Linked DNA regions of Homo sapiens: regions 1 and 3 are each linked to region 2. The links are contacts of gene promoters, found by promoter capture Hi-C in blood cells and fetal thymus (Javierre and others, 2016). All regions are on one chromosome and are shown on one strand. Each heading gives the region's core, a stretch centred on a gene start or on the middle of the fragment in contact. The rest is flanking DNA. Distances are from core to core; before and after follow the strand shown. Region 1 overlaps NKD1 (NKD inhibitor of Wnt signaling pathway 1). Region 2 holds the start of HEATR3 (HEAT repeat containing 3). Region 3 has its middle 13 kb from the start of BRD7.

Evidence for each region. Contacts are between HindIII fragments. The CHiCAGO score rates a contact against its expected background, and 5 or more counts as called.
Region 1: a contact is called between a fragment that was not itself captured here and the fragment with the promoter of HEATR3 in region 2, in 4 of 17 cell types (total CD4 T cells, activated CD4 T cells, naive CD4 T cells and 1 more). The highest score is 6.3, in total CD4 T cells.
Region 3: a fragment that was not itself captured here is called in contact with the fragment with the promoter of HEATR3 in region 2 in 1 of 17 cell types (neutrophils); the score reaches 6.4 in neutrophils.

The regions. Positions count from the first base shown.
Region 1 is chr16:50,558,055-50,562,187 of GRCh38, forward strand. All of the region lies in intron 3 of NKD1 (NKD inhibitor of Wnt signaling pathway 1), which reads left to right. Among named protein-coding and RNA genes, the nearest start is that of NKD1, 12 kb to the left of the region's middle. The HindIII fragment of the contact is 5,014 bases long and covers 1-4,133 here.
Region 2 is chr16:50,064,220-50,068,550 of GRCh38, forward strand. HEATR3 (HEAT repeat containing 3) reads left to right here and starts at 1,751. Exons shown (of 15, transcript NM_182922.4): 1 at 1,751-2,050; 2 at 2,148-2,320. The coding sequence starts at 1,913. HEATR3-AS1 (HEATR3 antisense RNA 1) reads right to left here and starts at 2,105. Exons shown (of 3, transcript NR_186390.1): 1 at 1,834-2,105; 2 at 472-588. RefSeq lists an enhancer at 1,559-1,853 and silencers at 1,704-1,753, 2,084-2,133, 2,214-2,473. The HindIII fragment of the contact is 22,013 bases long and covers 1-4,331 here.
Region 3 is chr16:50,379,488-50,383,817 of GRCh38, forward strand. No RefSeq gene overlaps it. Among named protein-coding and RNA genes, the nearest start is that of BRD7, 13 kb to the left of the region's middle. The HindIII fragment of the contact is 2,544 bases long and covers 790-3,333 here.

The sequences.
Region 1 (4,133 bases), core at 717-3,216, 490 kb after region 2:
AATCACTGCCATGTGGGAATATGGCCCTGGTGTTGCCACACGGGCTGATCATTAAGAAAATCCAGCTGTCTGAATTTTTATGTGAAACTTTTCCAATTTAAAAAATTATTGTTAACCAATTAAAATTTTTAGAAAACACCTTCTTTGGGTGACTCAGACGACTGGATTTGGCCTGTTAGTACACTGGCTTGTGTTTGCTGATTTAGACCTTTAAGATTCTGATGGTGGTGGTGGTAGAGAAGCAGTATGTTAGTGATAAAAGGACACACGAGTGAGTATCATATGGACTCAACATTGTGCCTAATACTTTCCATGCATTCTCTTGTAGAATCCTCACAACTGCCTTAGGTATTATTCCGCTATCGCATAGATGAGGAGGCAGGCCCAGCAAATTAGAGTCACTAGCCCAGCCAGGGAGAGCTGGATGCAGGCTGCATCCAAGGCAGAGAGTGCAGGCCAAGCAAAGGCTCATTGCCAGGAAGCTGTGCACAGTGTATTTCAGTCTGGTGGGAGAGCAATGTGGGAGGCACAGGAAGGGTAAGTAAAGATGTGGGCTGGGATGGGAGGCCGAGGTTGGTGGAGGCCGAGGTTGGTGGATCACCTGAGGTCAGGAGTTTGAGACCAGCCTGGCCAACATGACGAAACCCCGTCTCTGCTAAAAATACAAAAAAAAAAAAAAAAAGAAAGAAAAGAAAGAAAAAAAAAATAGCCGGGCATGGTGGCAGGCACCTGTAATCCCAGCTACTTGGGAGGCTGAAGCAGGAGAATTCCTTGAACCCGGGAGATGGAGGTTGCAGTGAGCCAAGATCGTGCCATTGCACTCCAGCCTGGGTGACAAGAGTGAAACTCTGTCTCAAACAAACAAACAAACAAACAAACAACAAAACAAAGATGTGGGCTGGGAGACTTTATGCTGAAGACCAGCATGTGCCCATAGAAGGTGCCAGAGGTGTGCTTAGAACTTGCAGAATCAGACTTCCTGGGTCTGAGTCCCAGCTGCACTTCTCCCCAGCTCGGTGGCCTTGGGCCAAGTGATGGCTCATCTCTGATTCTCAGTTTTCACATCTGTGGAATGGGTAGAGTAATGGTTCCTACCTCATTGGGTTGTTTTAAGGGTAGAAATGGGTTCATTTCAGCAAGTTAAAGAATAAAGGAGATGTCACCCCTTCTTTTGCAGCTTGCCAGTGTTGTTTGCTAGTGATCACCTGGATGTGTGCTCAGTGTGGTACCAGTGTGCTAAGTGCAGTGAAGGAAAAGGATGGGGAAGGAGAATAACGGAGGATTCTACTTCAGATTAGGGAGTGATGCGTAAGTCGTTAAGACCCAAAGAATAAATAGGAAATAGCTAGGTGGGGAAAGGTTTATTAAAAATATTCCAGGCAGAAGGCACGGGATGTGCAAAGGGCAAGAGGCATGCAGGGTTGGTGCACAGAGAAAGTGTTCAGCCTCCTTCTCGGTGTCTGACTTGGAACCACATTCCAGTCTCTGAGGTGTTAGAGCAGAACTATGTGGTGCAGCAGCAGGGAGTGGGCAGTGCCTGCTGGGCTGGGTGGTACCACTGTATGTTGCATCCCGTCATGAGGCCTTGTCTCCTTGCCGCAAGTCTTCCATGAAGTGTTACTGGTGTCTGTGGACTCCAGCTTTCTGGTCAGGTTGGAAGAGGTAGGGAGGAGAACCTCTCAGTCACAAGAAATAGTGTCACCCTGGAGCGGATTGGCTGGCCTGCTGGGCTGCCCAAGCCTTCTGGCCTTGAGCATAGAGCTGGGGTCCTGAGGAGGGGAGAGGCAGAGCATAAAAGGACCCTGTTAGCAGGATGGGGCTGTCTTCCCTCAGGCCACAGCCTCCCTAATGGGCTCAGGCCGGAGGATGTTTTTCTAACTTCAGAAGGCTGCGTGGGCTGGTGGGCCCCTCACTCAGAGGCCTCGGCTTGCGGTGGCTCCAGTGAGTGGGTTTGGGGGTGCTGGTGTGTGGTGCCATGCCCATTCCATGCCTGGTTTCCAGAGGGAGCCTTGTTCCAGGACAGTTTTTGACCCTGACTTTGTTGTTTTACCCTTCTTTCCCCCTTCAAAGGCAAAAAGATGATTGAAGAGAACTACTATAATCCAGGAACAAAGTTGCCTTTTCAGCGGGCACTGGGGACTTTCTCTGCTTCCTCCCTGCCCTGGAAAGTCCAAAGGCACCCACTGCCTCAGCTGGTCCTGGGCACGTGCCTGCTTTCTCAGTGGCTGCAGGCTCAGTGTGCCCGCGAGCTGCCCACTGTGTGCATAGCCCCGTGCTGAGTCTGGGAGCTGCAGCCCGAGGAGGAGGTGGTAACAGCGTAGCTGCTGCTTGCTGCGTGTCTGCTGTGTGCCAGGCTCTGGGCCAAGCACTGTTCATAGTGCTGGATTCTCAGAGCACTGTTATGAGGCCGCTGTTATTATTATGCCCATCTTACCCATAGGGAAACTGAGGCTTTAAAGAAGTCAACCATATTGCCCAAGGTCACTTAACTTGGAAGTGGAATCTTGCTTCAGCAAGATTCAAATTCAGATCACTCAGTGTGATTTTAGAGCCATCTTAAATCAGTTTAGGCGAGTTTTTTTTTTTTTTTCAACTGTATGTCTCAGCCCCATTCATGGTTCATGACATCAATTTAGTGACCAAAATGAAATAGAGTAAAAATATGAGAAAACATTATATATAGTAAGAGTAAATATTGTTTTGTGTAATTTTTTGTTCTAGTTAAAAAAAATGTATACACACACTTTACACACACCTATACCCAAACCCATCTATCTATCTATCTATCTATCTATCTATCTATCTATCTACAGCAGAGGCATATTGTAAAATATAATTCTTACTATAGGTCATAATCAGAGTATTAGAAAAACGCTGGTGTGGGTCACTGGTGCAGGCCCTGAGCCTGAATGCCTGGTTTTGAGCCCTGGCTCTACTTCTCACTAGCAGTGTGACCTAGGGCAACTTTCCTGACCTCTCTGTGCTTTCTGAGCTGTTTGGTTTGTTGACTTTTGGGCCTGGGTCAGTGCTCCCAGGGATGCTGTGGGTGCTTGCTGCTGGCTCACTCCCTTTGCTTAGGGAATGAAGAGGATGAGCAGTCCCATGGAGGGGGGGCCCATGGCTTCTCCCCTGAGAAGCCAACAGCAGCAGCTTCATCCCAGGAGAAACACAGACATGGCTCAGTCATCAGGGGTTGGACACAATGCTGCGCTGGGAACCCTGAGCCTGGGGGTGCCTCCAGCTTAGCTATGAGGTATCTATTATGACCTCTCCTGCCTTCTGCTTCCTCCTCTCAAAAATGCATTAAAGGAAAGGAGAAGGCTTTGTTTCTACTGCTGTAAAAAAAAAAAAAAAGTCCAAAGATTAGTGACTTGATCACTTTGTGACTTGCTTAAGAGTATGCACTTTGGACCAAGCCTGGGAGGGTCAACTTGTCTGTGGCTCCATGTAGCACAGTTAGGGTGGCTCTAACAGCAAGGGTCTGACTGCAGCAGCTCCAAATAAGTGACATGTCTGGGGCTTCAGTTCTCTTCTAGTTGGCCTCACCTCATGAGTAGCTTGGGCTTCCTCACAGTATGGCAGTCTCAGGGTAATCAGATTTACATGGTGGCTGTCTTTCCCAAGAGTATAGAAGCAAAAACGGCCAGGACTCTTTAAGGTTTAGGCCTGGAATTAGCAACAACACATTCTCTTCATTAAAGCAAGTCACAGGTCCAGCCTAGATTTAGGGGAAGGAACTACACAGGGGCATAAATACTGGGAAGTGGGATTCACTGGGGGCCATCCACACAGTCTACCGGAGAGTAGGTGGTCTCTTGCAGAGAGAGTGGAGTTATAGAAAAGGACTGAGACGTGTCCCTTGGGTTTAGGATCCTGGCGGTCACAGTTGGGTCTGGCAGGAACTGTCTTGGTGAAGTGACAGCAGAGGTGAGACTTGGGTGGCTCACGAAGGGACTAAGAAATATGTGCAGGGGAGCAGAAGCACATACTTACAAGAACATTCATGGCTGCATTTGGAAGAATGAAAAGTTTTTGACAACTCAAACATCCATCACTAGGGTACAAGGTAACAGTGGTGTGGACTTCTCATTGAGCTCTCTGCAACTGGTCAAAGCCCAGCGAGTAAGGGCCTC
Region 2 (4,331 bases), core at 501-3,000:
ACCATGCCTGGCTAATTTTTGTATTTTTAGTAGAGATGGGGTTTCGCTATGTTGGCCAGGCTGGTCTTGAACTCCAGACCTCAGGTGATCTGCTCACCTTGGCTTCCCAAAGTGGTGGGATTACAGGTGTGAGCCACAGTGCCCAGCCCAAGATTGATCTTTGATAGGCCCAAATGCAACATGAGCTACACTTCTGTTACTCTCTAAAATTTGCCATAGTAATTAATTTCCCTTACTGGACAGTCAACTCTTTGACAGTAGGGTTACCATGGAATGGAAATTTTCTCCAGTAGAATGTTGACCTGAGCCTGGGCGTGGTGGCTCATACCTGTAATACTAGCACTTTGGGAGGCTGAGGCAGGCAGATCATTTGAGATCAAGAGTTCGAGACCAGCCTGACCAACGTGGTAAAACCCCGTCTCTCCTAAAAATAATAATAAAAAAAAAATAGCTGGGCATGGTGGCACATACCTGTAATCTCAGCTACTTAGGAGGCTAAGGCAGGAGGACTGCTTGAACTCCAAGGCAGAGGTTACAATAAGCCGAGATCGCACCATTGCACTCCAGCCTGGACAGCAGAGTGAGACTCTGTTTCAAAAACAAAAAGAAAAAAAGAAAATTGACCCAAAGCTATGCATATATTGAGTACTCACTCGTTACATGTCTAATTATAAAGACCACCTAAGATTCTCCTGTACTTTTCCCTCTGCTTAGTATTTACCACAATTATAACCAAAGTTATTCATATAATTATATATTCAACAGATCTCTCCCTGGACTGTAAATTCCATAAGGACAGGGAGAGAGGACAGGAACCAAACTGTCTTGATTACTGCTTTATTCCAATGCCCAGCACTGTACCTAGTACTCAACAAATATCTGCAAAAGAATCTCTTTGTTAAATACGTTTCCAAACATTTACATAGTGCTTAGTATCTGCCAGTCTCTGTTCTTAGCACCTTAAACATATGAACACATTTAGTCTTCGTAACAACTCCATGAGGTATATACTATCGATGTCCCCACTTCACTGATGAGGAAACTAAGGCAGGGAGATTAGGTTCTTAAGCGATTCTGTTTTATCAAATATAGACACACATTCGTTCCAAAACATTAACTAGTCTCTGTCTACGACAGGAGCTATGGGAGGTGCTGGGGACACAAAATAAAATCGTGGTTAATGCTTTTTGAGTACCTGCTATATATCAGGCTTGGTGTTAGGCACTTTACAGAACTTTATGAACTTTACAGAACTTACAATAACCTTGCAAGTTAGGTATTCTTAATCACATTTGATTATTTGTAGCCGGTGTTACTAACTTATTGGTTGCTTGATTGATTGATTGAGACAGGGTCTCGCTCTGTCGCCCAGGATGGAGTGCAGTAGCAGGATCACGGCTCACCTCAGCCTCAAACTCCTGGGGTCAAGTGATCCTCCGGCTTCAACGTCCCAAGTAGCTGGGACTACACACACACGCCACTATGCCCAGATAATTTTTAATTTTTTTGGTGGGGAGGACAGGGAGTGGAGTGTTTTCCTATGTTGCCCAAGATGGTCTCGAACTTCTGGCCTCAAGTGATCCTCTCGCCCGGGTCGGCGTTACTATTCTAGTCCAACCTCCTACTTACCCGGTAAACCCACAAGGCTCCGCCCCTTTGCCGAAGCTGGCCCCGCCTATGCCCTCTTCCACGCCTGCGCGCTCCGTGCGCCAGTTCCCCCCACCCCGCCCCGCCCCAACCCCGACCCGGCAGACGACGCGCCGTGCGCCTGCGCACGGCTTGCCCATGTGTGCTGCAGCCGTCAGCCGGCCCAGCTGAGCAGCAGCAACGGACCTTGTTAACGGCGCGGCAGCCTCCACCGCCTGCTGTTGCCCTCCTCTCTCGGTGGTCTGTCCGCCCAGCGCACGTCACCATGGGCAAGAGCCGGACGAAGCGCTTCAAGCGACCTCAGTTCTCCCCTACGGGCGACTGTCAGGCCGAGGCGGCTGCGGCGGCGAATGGGACCGGAGGCGAGGAGGACGACGGGCCGGCGGCGGAGCTGCTGGAAAAGGTGAGGCGAGGGCTCCGTCGGGCCGGGAGGCGAGACGAGGTTGCCCCGCGCGCGTGCGCATTGCGCGCCTTCTGACCCTTTTCGCTCTCATCCGCAGCTCCAGCACCCGAGCGCCGAGGTCCGCGAGTGCGCCTGCGCAGGGCTGGCCCGGCTGGTGCAGCAGCGGCCGGCACTCCCGGGCCTGGCGCGACGAGACGCCGTGCGCCGCCTCGGGCCGCTGCTGCTAGACCCCAGCCTGGCCGTCAGGGAGACTGCAGCCGGCGCGCTGAGGTGAGCCAGGAAGGGTGCGGGGCGGTGCCCACCGCTGGCCTCCCCCGCGTCTGGGCTGCGGGCGGTCGCAGCGGTCACCCAGCGCCTTCTGTGTGCCATCAGGCACTGGCCCGGTCTCCCGTTTGCAGAGATTTGAAGCCAGTCTCCAGGCTCCGGAGAAGCCCAGTATCCCCGCATCTCATCTGTCCACCTGGCTGCTTCACCTGCAGCGTCCACCTGCTCAGGCGTCCTGCCCTCACGCCTTGCGCACGTTTTACACTCTCCAAAAGCCCTCCTTAGGGTCCCTTGCTTGGATGAACTCTTCAGTTCATGTGTCAGGAATCGTTCTAGATGCAGGGGACTTTGAGCAGCCAAGACTTTTGAGCGAGATCTGTTGACAGCCAAGATCCCTGTCTTGGCACAAGTCATGTTGATGGGGAGACAGACAGGAAGCTAGTAAAAAGGTAAAACATAATATTAAATAGTGAGAATTGCTGTGGGAAAACGAGATGATGATGAGTTGGGGGTGGGAAGTTTGAATTGGGTGCTCTTGGGCCGGGCGCGGTGGCACACACCTGTAATCCCATTGCTTTGGGAGGCCAAGGAAGGAGGATCACTGGAGGCCAGGAGTCCAAGGCCAACCTGGGCAACATAGCAAGACCCCGTCTGTAGAAAAATTATAAACAATTAGTCGGGCATGGTGGTGGGTGCCTGTAATCCCAGCTACTCAGGAGGCTGAGGTAGGAGAATCGCTTGAGCCCAGGAGTTCGAGGCTGCAGTGAGCTATGATCACACCACTGCACTCCAGCCTGGGTGATAGAACAAGACCCTGTCTCAAAAAAAAAAAAAGGTGCTCTTTAGATGACTTGTGAAAGGAGATGTGCAGGGTGAGAGAGCCAGGAGGCATGGGAAAATAGGGGGAAGAATATTCCCCACAAAGGGAGCAGCAACAGCAAAGAAGCGAAGCAGCAGGCAGCTTGACGTGGTTAAACAGCAGAGAGGGTAGGTAGGTGGCTGAGAAGAGCAGGGGTGGGTAATTACAGGAAGTGAGGCTGGAGAGAGGGATGAGCTGTACGATGGTGTAGGGCTGAGGACTTAACTCTAAGCAGGGAAGTGACATGCTGCAACACATTTTGTGAAGACCACTCTGCTGGTTGTGCAGAGAATGGACTGCAGAGGGGGCAAGAGTAGAGGTTAGTATTTGTAGTTCTTACAGCTCTGTCTCTGTTTGTTATTTATATTTCATTCACTGATATAGCAAATATGTATAAAGTGCCAACTGTGTGCCAGACACTGAGCTAAGCTGTGGGCATGGGGTAATGAGCAAGGCAATGTCTCTCCTTAAGAAATCTTAAAGTGTATTGAGGGAGACAAGCATTAACCAAACAGTTACATAAGTGTATGATTACAATGAATGGTAATGACAAAGGGTGCTAAAAGAGGGTACAAACAAAGGGTTCAGGGAAGAAGACTGAGTGAGTGGTGCTTGAGGTGAGCTCGGAGGAATGAATGGGCATTCACCAGTTGATGGAGGGGGGATAGACGCTCTTCTTCCTTTAGGGAGGAAACAGCATGTGGAAAGCCCTTCCCTTCCTCCCACAGCATACAGAGGCTGGGGGATCCTGGCACATTGTGAGGGCATCTTCTGACTATCTCCATATCCTTAGGGACTAGCACAGTGCTGTGTACTCGGAAGTCATGTCTTTCCAATTAAAATTTACCCAGGGCTGCTTTAGGGGGTGTCATTCTCAGTAGCCCCACCTTGCTGCCCTTGCAGTTCGCTTTTTATTTTATTTTATTTTTTTAGAAACGGGGTCTCCCGCTGTTCCTAGGCTGGTCTTGAATTCCTGAGCTCAATTGATCCTCCCACCTAGGCCTCTCAAAGTGCTGGGATTACAGGTGTGAGCCACAGCACCTAGCCCTGCCCTTGTAGTCTTGATTCCAAGAAAAGGTCCCTTCATACATGATGTGATTTATTCACATGAGAAAAGTCTCCCCTCTCCCCTTCTTGTAGCCATGCACCTGTATACTG
Region 3 (4,330 bases), core at 812-3,311, 320 kb after region 2:
TTTCTCCTCCTCTCTCTACTGTGATCTTGCCTTTCAGAGCCAGTAGGGGTTCAGACTTGGAGTTGCTGACATTGTCAGCCCCGGAAGAAAAGTTGTGAGGCTCAGCCAGATCTATTTATGCCAGATTTTACAACATCATTGAATTATTTGCACTCAGAACTGCTGATGTTCTGTTGTTATTGTTGTTTAAGTCTACACATAGGCATTTTGGAAGGCACCAATGAATGGGCATCTCTTTATAGTTTCTGAGGCAGAAAAAGGAAAAACTTTTTTCTCCCCTTTATTTAGGAGAAAAGTGAGTGGAGTGGGGAATACAGCCTTCTCCTTCCTGCCTGCCTGTCCCTCTTTCACCTGGGGTAAAATCTGCTTCTGAAAGCCTCCCCAGAGCCCGCTATGAGGAAGGAATAGCCCCTCATCTGTGCACCCTGGCTATTGACTCAGCAAGAGCTGCCATATTTCCTGGCTTCCACTCTGCTCCGCCATAAATCCACTTTCCCCACCACAGCCAGAGTGACTTTGAAATACACAGATTTCCGGGCCAGGGGCAGTGGCTCACACCTGTAATCCCAGCACTTTGGGAGGCCAAGGTAGGAGGACCAGGAGTTTGAGACCAACCTGGGCAAGATAGTGAGAACCCCATCTCTGTTAAAAACAAAACACATGGATTTTTCTGTGGGTGGTGGTACGTTACAAAAATAAAAACAAAAACATAGATTATAGATTGGATTAGGCCACATCATCGTCCTGTTCATAACCCTTTGGGGGGTCTCCCATCTCAGATCAAGCCCAAGCTTTTTTCCTAAGCCTACAAGGCTCAGTGTAACCTGACCTCGTGCTCTTCTCTGACCCCGATTTCTGCCACTGCCTACTTCTACCCACTAATCTCCAGACATAATTTGCCTAATCTTAGTCCCTTGAACATGCCACACTCTTCCTCCATGCAGGCCTTTCACACATGCTATTCCCTTATTCTGGAATGCTGTTCCCACACTCTTCATATGGCTGGCCTCTTCTCATCTCTCACCACCTCAGAAAGGCAACCCTAAACTGCTCCAACAAGTCCCCTTTTAGTTTCTGTCTTTATTTATATATATATTTTGAGATGGAGTTTTGCTTTTGTCGCCCAGGCTGGAGTTCAGGTGCGAGATCTCAGATCACTGCAACCTCCACTTCCTAGTTTCAAGGGATTCTCCTGCCCCAGCCTCCCGAGTAGCTGAGATTACAGGTGCTCACCACCACACCCAGCTAATTTTTTGTGTTTTTGGTAGAGACGGGGTTTCGCCATGTTGGCCAGGCTGGTCTTGAACTCCTGACCTCAGGTTATCCACCTGCCTCGGCCTCCCAGAGTGCTGGGATTACAGGCGTGAGCCACTGCACCCGGACCTCTTTTAGTTTCTCTTATAGCACCCTGTGGTTTTTCTGTTTCTGATAAAACACATCACATTTGCAATTCCGTATTTATTTGTCTATTGTCTGCCTTCCCATAAGACTGAGAACTTCCTGAGGGCAAGAGCTGAGTCTATTCTGTTTTGTTCACTGGCACTTGACATGTACCTAATACATTTTTGTTGCCCAAATGATTAGACGGTTGAAGTCCTCTCTTGTGGAAGGCAGGACTTCCTTCTGTGTTCTTCCTTCTGGCAGTGACTTATTTCTCCTCCCAGGAGGGGATTGGAGAGAGGAGGTTTTGTCATGCTTCCCTCTGTCCCCCTCAAGGCACTCAACATGGTATTTGGCCCACCATGGGAGCCCAGTGGAGGATGATGAATGAATTCACATTAAATATGTTCTTCCTCTTCCCCCCAACTGCACAGCCAGCTACTCCTGGGAGAGGCATAAATAGTGACCTACAGGCCGGCTGCAGTGGCCCACACCTGTAATCCCAGCACTTTGGGAGGCCTAGGTTGGTGGATTACTGGAGGCCGGGAGTTGGAGATCAGCCTGGCCAACACGGGGAAACTCTGTCTCTACTAAAAATACAAAAATTAGCCAGGCATGGTGGCACATGCCTGTAATCCCAGCTTCTTGGGACGCTGAGGCACAAGAATTGCTTGAACCCTGGAGGTGGGGGTCTCAGTGAGCCAAGATTGTGCCACTGTGCTCCAGTCTGGGCAACAGAGCAAGACCGCCTCAAACAAAAATAAGTGACCTACACCATGAGACTTTGGAGTTGTCAAGCCTTTGCAAAATCTCAAACTCTCTCTTCTACTGATGTGAGTACTGTAGTGCCTGAGAGTCCATTACAACAGAGCAAGGGCAAGGTCTAAGAATCATCTTCCAAGGTCAGCACACCTGGAAGGGGTATTGCCTGAACTGAGCCTGGTAATTTCCTCCTGGGATGGGGAGGGTGGGGAGGGTGGAGAACACAGTGACAGCGCCCCCTGCCCCAGGCTTTCACTTCACCAGATATCCATTAAGCACAGTGATTGTTAGGGTCCACAGGGACTTCAGATACAAACAAGACACAGCCCCTAACCTCAGGAGGCTCAGGGTTTGGTGGAATAGACGCGTGACTTGCCCCCTTTCTGCCGTATGACACTTTGGGCTCGTTACTTGAAAGCCTTGGCTTCCTCATCTGTAAAATGGGGTTATAAATGTACCAATCTCATTGGTGATAATTCATTGAGTTGATGCATAAAAATGCTTAGGACAGGGCCAGGCTCAATAAGGGTGAGTAGTCAGTGTTATTATCTGCCATGCCTCAGGCAAGGTACAGAGTTTCCCCAAGGCTACTTGACCTCTTCCTGTTTACCCTGCCTCCTGGCCAGCTGCCCTCTGGTGGTAACTGTGCAGAGTGGTCGCCTGCCTCTGGCACCTGTCTGATCTGCCCCGGTCCTGCTGACCCCTCCTGTGGGCCTTTTGGTTGTCTGGACTCTTGGTATGTCCCAGGCCTTCCCTTTTTGCTAGGTTTCCAAGGCTGCTCTTCTGCGTCAGCAGGTTTCTCAGGCTTTTCAGACCCAAGTGACCATCTTGGGACATAGGCAGAGAGAAGCCTTGATGTTACTAGTTATTTCTGCCCATTGGGCACCAAATAAACACTTTCTCTAGCAACAGCCTCTTGACTTCCACTTAGAGAGCCTCCTCTCCCCACATGACCTAAGCCTGCCAATGAGAGTGTCACAGCCGCGAGGGCCAGTGAGGATTGGTTCAGGGGTGAGCATGTGACCCAGGCCTGCCAGTGAGAGTATCACAGCTGCCAGGACCAATGATTGGTTCAGAGGTGGGCCTGTGACTGGAATCTGGTTAATGAGAATATCATAGCCCCTGGCTTGGTGATTGGTACAGAGGTGGGCAGGGACTGAGGCTTGGCTTTGGTGGGACCTTTCCATGAAAAGCTTGCTGAGCCAGTGGTATGTCAGTCTGGTGCTTTTGGGGCTTGAGAGGAGGCCCTGCCTGAGAATAAAGCTAATGGTGGAGAAAGCAGAGCCAAGAGCTAGTGGCCTGGTGACAGTAATTGAGTCTCTGGATCCAGCTGAGCCTGAAGTTCATCAACCTCTTACACTTTTCAATCCAAGGGTTGAATAAATTCCCCCTCTGAGTTTTGTGTACTTTGAACTGGATTTCTAGCCCTTGCAACTGAAAGAACATAGGCTGACTTGTGTGTGCATGGACACACACACACACACACACACACACACACACACACACACACACTTCATTCAGTGCCTACTGAGGAGTCCCTCTGCTTAGGGAACTGAGCACTGCCTGTTCCCAGAGCATACAGAGGTGACCAGGACAGTTCCTGACCTCAGGAGTCCCAGGAATGGGGCAACAAGTCCGACTTCTTGCTCAGATACTTTTAAGTGTGGCGGGCCCATTCTCACCAGGGCCAGCTACGTCATTTGTAGGGCTGAGTGCAAAATGAACACGTGGGGTCCTTTGTTCAAAATTATTAAGAATTTCAAGGTAGGAACTCAGAGCATTAATCCAAGTGTGAACCCCTATGTTCATGAGGGAACATATACATGAGGAAACTATCACACAAACCATTATCAAATAGGTCTAATTTAAGGTATTCTGGGGGACAAAGGCTTGGCTCCTTCAAAATAGAATCCTTGGTAGGGACCCAGGTTTGAGTAGTGCTCACCATGGCAGTAGCCTTGAGGGGAGCTGGGAATGATTGGGTGACCATACGATCTGCCTGTGGTCACCAAGGAAGGCTGTTTTGCCTGGAAGGGAAGAAAGCTCCTGGGAACAGAAATCTCAAGACCAGGCATATGGGTGGGTGGGAGCAGAGGGAGGTGGAGTTGGTTGGGATCCTTGTTTTGAAGTGGGAGGCAAACAAAGATGGGCGAGGTCCATGTTTGGTAAAAAGATGGACCAGGAGTCA